Linked DNA regions of Homo sapiens: region 2 is linked to region 1. The links are contacts of gene promoters, found by promoter capture Hi-C in blood cells and fetal thymus (Javierre and others, 2016). All regions are on one chromosome and are shown on one strand. The core of a region is centred on a gene start or on the middle of the fragment in contact, and the rest is flanking DNA. Distances in the headings are between cores, read along the strand shown.

The links. The method cuts DNA at HindIII sites, captures the fragments that hold promoters and counts their contacts. A CHiCAGO score of 5 or more calls a contact.
Region 2: a fragment that was not itself captured here is called in contact with the fragment with the promoter of ERI2 in region 1 in 1 of 17 cell types (erythroblasts); the score reaches 5.3 in erythroblasts.

The regions. Positions count from the first base shown.
Region 1 is chr16:20,804,584-20,808,005 of GRCh38, forward strand. ERI2 (ERI1 exoribonuclease family member 2) reads right to left here and starts at 1,889. Exons shown (of 9, transcript NM_001142725.2): 1 at 1,825-1,889. The coding sequence starts at 1,847. REXO5 (RNA exonuclease 5) reads left to right here and starts at 1,944. Exons shown (of 20, transcript NM_030941.3): 1 at 1,944-2,122; 2 at 2,369-2,508. The coding sequence starts at 2,371. RefSeq lists enhancers at 1,085-2,030, 1,779-1,888, 2,609-2,748. The HindIII fragment of the contact is 22,874 bases long and covers 1-3,422 here.
Region 2 is chr16:22,351,439-22,354,860 of GRCh38, forward strand. All of the region lies in intron 2 of CDR2 (cerebellar degeneration related protein 2), which reads right to left. Among named protein-coding and RNA genes, the nearest start is that of CDR2, 21 kb to the right of the region's middle. The HindIII fragment of the contact is 554 bases long and covers 1,637-2,190 here.

The sequences.
Region 1 (3,422 bases), core at 639-3,138:
TGAGCCCGGGAGGTGGAGACTGCAGTGAGCCGAGATCATGCCACTGCACTCCAGCATGGGCAACAGAGCGAGACCCTGTCTCAAAAAAATAAATAAATAAAATAAAATAAGAAAAAAAGAGAAGAGCTTACTGAGGTCTTAAGTGCAAGTAAAACAAACTACTTGGTATTAGCAGGTAGAGTTTTAACTAGGCAGACACCTCCTGTAGTTTTCTGTGTTTGCTAAGAGTGGGAAGTGCCAGGATTTGGGAATAATAAATATCATTTATTGACTGCTTACTACATAGCAGGTACTAAAATTAAACTAAGATGATGGCCTCCTTTAATCCTCAACAAGTGTAGTAGCTAGAAACTTTTCCTACCTATATTTTATGGATGAGAAAACTGATTCTTAATTTGCCAAAGAACATAGCTTTGGTATGTGAACCCAAGACTGTCCAATTCTGAAGCTCATGCTATTTGCTATTATATTACATCTTTCTAGTAATCAGAAATATGCACAGCGCATCCAGGAATCAGGGAGGACACAATAATTCATATTGTGAATTAAAAGGATCACTAGGCCAGGCACCGTGGCTCACACCTGTAACCCCAGCACTTTGGGAGGTTGAGGCGGGTGGATCACCTGAGGTCGGGAGTTCGAGAACAGTCTGACCAACATAGAGAAACCCCATTTCTACTAAAAATACAAAATTAGCTGGGTGTGGTGGTGCATGCCTGTAATCCCAGCTACTTGGGAGGCTGAGGCAGGAGAATGACTTGAACCCGGGAGGCAGAGGTTATGGTAAGCCGAGATCGCACCACTGCACTCTAGCCTAGGCAACAAAACTCCGTCTCAAAAAAAAAAAAAAAGATCACTAGAAAATGGGTTTGTAAAAAGTAGAGGTTCCTCTTCAAAGACTTCCTTCCCCGTCTAATTAGGAATAAATAGTAACTTCTCTTAGAGCAAAATTTATTCAAAGACCTGTGCTAACATTCTTAAATATCTGCTAGATATAATAAAGAAATCAATGTACTTTATGTTCTTAGCTCCCACAATTTAGCCTAAATATTTGCCCTGGCATGCTTATACTGGTCCAATCAAACATTAGGTCATAGCCTGTTCCTCTTCCTTACTTAAAAGTGTTTTTACCTTTCTCAGCATTCCACAAGTTACTTCCTTCTTCCTTTGTTCTCCTCTGCCTTTGCCTCTTTTAAAAAGTTCTATGTTGCTAGTCAGTCGGGACAAATACAGAATGTGAGGTCCCGTTCCAGCCAAAGGAAACCGGACACAGCAGTAGGGTGGACGCGCCACGTTATAAATGACCCTGTCTCCTTTGTTCAGTGTACTCTCCTGGCAAAACTGCTGGCGAGTGTACCCTTTCTGCAGGAAGTAAAAATGGCCTTACTAAATAAATTAAATTTAAGTTTAAGTTCTATTTCTTTACAGCACCGAGGAACGAGCATTTCGAACAGGTTGAACACCTTGACAGATTCAGTGTGTGGCCTGCCTGAGACCTCCAACCAGTCTGCAGGGCACTGTCACGTCCAGTCGTTTCCCAAGGCCTAAAATAGGCAGGCACTGGCTCAAGGCCACACAGTCAAGGCCCCAGGGTTCGTCCGCCTCGGGCTCCTGTCACCCTCGGGTAGAAGGTGGCCCAAGGCTGAAGACCGAGGTCCAGGGAGGCGCCTTTCCAACCGTGCCAGAGAGGGCAGGTCGCAGACGCCGGGGCTGCGGGGAATAGAGGCCCTCACCGCAGATGCCACCTGCCGTGCCCTGCTCTGCGGCCAACGCCAGCGCTGGACCCGGAGCTACCCGCCCCCGACCCGGAACTCCCTCGAGTACCGCGCGAGCCGCTTGGTCGCCATTCCCGACACTCCTTGCTTTTCCAAGTCCAGCTGCCGGAAGTCGCTCGACTTCTACTTCCGGTCCGTTCAAAAAGCCCGCGAGGCTGAGGGGCGGTTGTTGTTGGCAGCTGTGGCTAAGGAGGGGAGAACCTCTGCTCCCCGCCCGTCTTCTCTTCTGCGTTTCCCGGGCTAGGGGGCGTGGGGAGTGGTTTTAGGCGGCGAAGCCGCTCGGCAGCACCTTCCTTCTTTGCCAGGCAGACGCCCGTTGTAGCCGTTGGGGAACCGTTGAGAATCCGGTAACCGATGCGGACGGTAAAGCCGTTTGGGTTAGAGCGGCGCGGGTGTCCAGTCCGCGGAACGGGGAGATCGTTGGCACCTTCGCTTTTTTAGGGGAACGGGGATAGTTCGGTAAACTGAATTGAGAAGCGGATCCGAGGGAGGTTGAAAGCTGTCAAGCCCGTGTAGCTCTCCCGCTAGGAGGCGGCACGCGGGGGAATAGGGGCGCTGGAGTTTCCCCAGCTCTACCTCATCTTTCTCCACAGCCATGGAGCCAGAGAGGGAAGGGACCGAGAGACACCCCAGGAAGGTCAGGGAAAGCAGGCAGGCCCCAAATAAGCTGGTCGGGGCAGCTGAGGCGATGAAAGCCGGTTGGGATCTCGAGGAGAGTCAGCCCGAGGCCAAGGTGAGCAACGGGGATCCCGAGCAGGCGGCCCTAGGCGGTTTGGAGCTCCCGGACCCTCGCCCAACCGCCGTCGGGGGCACTGGATTCGGGCGGGCTCTCCGCCCTGGCCTCTCCGAACCTGATCCCTGATCATTAAAATGGGAATGAGTGTAATACCACCTTCCTGCAACAAGGCTGTCATTGGCTGTCACTGGGATAGTGAGTCGGCCGAGTGCGGTGGCTCATGCCTGTAATTCCAGCACTTTGGGAGGCCGAGGCGGGCGGATCACGAGGTCAGGAGTTCGAGACCAGCCTTGTCAACATGGAGAAATCCCCGTCTCTACCAAAAACACACACACAAAATTAGCCAGGCGTGGTAGTGGGTGACTGTAATCCCACCTACTTGGGAGGCTGAGGCAGGAGAATCGCTAGAACCCAGGAACCAGAGGTTGCAATGAGCCAAGACCACGCCATTACACTCCACCCTGGACAACAAGAAAGAAATCACGTCTCAGAAAAAAAAAAAAAAAAAAAAAAACTGGGATGGTGGGCCGGGTGCAGTGGCTCACGCCTGTAATCCCAGCAGTTTGGGAGGCCAAGGCGGGAGCATCATTTGAGGCCAGGAATTCAAGACCAGCCTGGGCAATATAGCAAGGACCCCATCTCTTAAAAAAAAAAAACAAAAAACAAAACAAAAAAAAAACTGCCTGTACATAATAGGAATGTTCATCGATATCCTGGGGCACAAAAATACAATTCCTTGCCCTCGTGCAGTTTACATTCCAGTAGGGCGGGGGTCCCCAACCCCCTGTGCACAGACTAGTACCTGCCTGTCCATGGGGTCCCCAACCCACTGTCCACAGCTGGCCTGTTAGGAACCGGGCCACAAAGCAGCAGGAGGTGAGCGGTGGCCGATAGAACGTTACCCCCTGAGC
Region 2 (3,422 bases), core at 664-3,163, 1.5 Mb after region 1:
CCTGTCTTCCACAATGGTTGAACTAATTTACACTCCCACCAACAGTGTAAAACGTTCCTATTTCTATGTGGAGGATCTTAATTTGGAAAAAAAAATCAATCTCTTTCTCTGAATGAGGCATTCTGGACCAAAAAAAATGAAAAGTATGTTGCTTTGACGAGAAATATATTTTAGCTTAATATGCTTCAAAGACTCCTGTTATTTTTAATTTTATGAGAGTTTTATCACCATTATCCTCCTTATTCACGAGAAATTTATCAGATGATTTATTCTGGTCCTGCTAAGACTGCTTCCTAAATGGCCAAGGATAAAGGGGAATAATCCCAACCTTAATGCCGCAGTGTAAGTCACCTTGATTCCCTCCCTGCTCAGCTCTACCTGAAGACACTAAAACACAGTATATATTCCAAAGGAAAAAGTCACAGTATTTCCCTGGACAGAACCAGAAAGAGGGGAGAAATGGTTTGAAGCTTACTGATGATCAAACTGTAAAAGACTCAGAACTTGACTTTAAAAACACTCTTCTTGGCCAGGCATGGTGGCTCACACCTGTAATCCCAACACTTTGGGAGGCCAAAACAGGCAGATTGCTTAAGGCAGGCCAGGAGTTCAAGACCAGCCTGGCCAACATGACAAAAACCCACCTCTAATAAAAATACAAAAATTAGTCCGGCGTGGTGGCACGCGCCTGTAATCCCACGTACTCAGGAGGCTGAGGCATGAGAATCTTTTGAACGTGGGAGGTGAACGTTGCAGTGAACCGAGATCGTGCCACTGCACTACAGCCTGGGTGACAGAGACTGTCTCAAACACAACACAACACACTCTTCTTGAGGCTTTTTCTACAACTCTAGAAGGATTTGCAAGGCTAACAAACAATGGGCTAAATGACACTCAACGGGCCCTTAAAGTGTTGAAAAAAGCATATATGGCTTTTTTTTTTTCAAATCCATTTACATAACTCAGCAGCAAAGAGTTGAACAAACACTTAACCTAACTTCAACTTTCTCATCTGAAACTCTTGAAGTCAAAAGTGTTTTGGAAAATTCTTTAAATTTTAGAAAGACAACATGGCGCTCATACCTGACACACAGCTGACACCTTATAATACCTGTGAGGTCTGGGCAGCACCCTGTAATCAAGCATTAATATTTCTGCATCAAAAAGTATGAACTAAGACTATAAACAGCCTCACATCAGTTCAGGTAAAGATCTACTACCAAATGAATCTGTTGCAAATTTAAGGGGAAAAAAAAAATCTTGCTTTATAGAGCTTTTTGAGTTCGGAATTAGTAAGTGGATCTGTTAGTACCTACCATGTAGAACTGGCAGAATTAAATGAGAAAGGTGAGCACATGGCACGGTCTATAAAAGCCTGTGTGTAGTCTTCACTGCCTCAACTCCCACCAGCTTCTTCTGGTCCTTTGGAAATCAACCACTAATTCTCATGCGTGAAGCTTTCTCAGAACTAAAGGAGTAGGCCCTTAATCCTGCCCTCGGGCTAGTAATTCCATAGTAGGTTCTTGTCATTGATGGGAACATGTTCAATCTCTTAGGAATTGATGAGATTCCACAGGAGCGGAAAAAAGGCTTAGAATCACAAGAATATATATATAATAGCTGCAGAAATGTTTCAAGCTTCTTTATATCAAGTATAAATTATCAAGTATTCTTTAGGACTCAGAACTACCTTTAAAAAGGCTAATGCATAAGCCAGACATTAATTTATTAATATACAACAGGAACTGTTCCTGCCCAGTGACAAGAATATTCACATCCTCTATTAGGACACAGCTGCCCCACAAAGGGCATGTGAAAGGCCGATTCATGAATGAGAGTCTCTGGTAGACATGGGATCAGAGGAGTCTGATGGGAGGCAGTGGTATAGTAGCTAAGAGCACAGGCTTTGGAGTCAGAACCTGGTTTGAGGTCTTGCTTTGCTGTTTAGAACTGGGTAACCTACAGCAAGCACATTTTTCTAATGTGAGTTCTCCTCATCAACTACTTCATAAGGCTGTAAAGATAAATATGTGTGTGGGAGAGACTGGACTATGTCACCCCAAAGCATGCGTCTTTGGCATAAAAAGGTTCCTGCCTCCTCCCTCTCTACCAGGGAGAACAAAGGTTAACCACTAACAACTTTAGACCTTTATGGGCCAGAAGACAGCACCAGAGGAATCCACACTAACAAGCTTTGCTAACGGGCCTTTATCACCACTTACTTGCCTTCCCACAAGTTCTGCCCCTAGACAAAGTTCTTCCCCTTTGTCTTGTCACTTCTCTAAAAAATTACCATTCTTTGTTGAAGATACTACATAAGCTGGAATTCAAAGCCACCTCTGAGAATGACTCATCCCCTGGGTATCTCCCACACATATAAATGAAATAGATATGTTAGTAAGCTTGTTTTTCTCTTGTTAATCTGTCTTTTGTTGCAGGGGTCCTTTCCAACTAAGCACTCATGAAGGTTGAGGAAAAAAATATTTTTCCTCCCTGACATATACAAATATATAATTTACAAAAACGTTAATATATGTAGAGAGCTCAGCATGAGATCTGGCAGATGGTAAATTGCTCAATAAGGAGAAGCTACTGTCATCTTTATTTAAAGCTACAGTTTTCAAACTTTACATGTGCTAAGATTCACCTGGAAGAAGATTTATTAAAGTGTAAGAACCTGGGTCCCTTCCCCTCAAACGGCTGAGACTGGAGTAGAGCCAGGATTCTGCATTTTTAGCAACAAACCCAGGTGATATTAGTACAGGCAGTCCAGAGATCACACTTAGAGAAATGTTGATCTTGGACATGGAAAATCCTGGACGTCCCCTGCCCTGACCAATGTCCTTTTCTCTTGGGTCTAGGAGACACAGGCATTCACTGGATCAATGATGACTCTTCAGCTTAATGCTCACCGTCTCCCTGCATAGGGCTCAGCTTAGATGCAGTTATCCACTAAGATTAGGTTATATTTTAACTGTACCACAGCAGCATTCATCATCATAACGCTTCACTTTGGTATGTTCTTAACAATCATTAATTCCCTGAAATTACAAACTAGTTACCTTAACCTTGCTTGAGTGATCCTTCCTAACTTCTCAGTCCAAACAAATACTGAATTTCTACAGATGGCTAATCTTATCCACTGCATTTTAAAACTTTCTATTGTGGACCAGGTGTGGTGGCTCATGCCTGTAATCCCAGCACTTTGGGAGGCCAAGGCGGGTGGATCACTTGAGGACAGGAGTTCGAGACCAGCCTGGCCAACATGGTGAAACTCCATCTCTACTTAAAAAAAAAAAAAAAAAATTAGTTAGGCATGGTGGCACACGCCTGTAGTCCCAGCTACTTGGGAGGCTGAGGCATGAGAATCACTTGAACCCAGGAGGCAAAGGTTGCAGTGAGATAAGATCACACCATTGCAC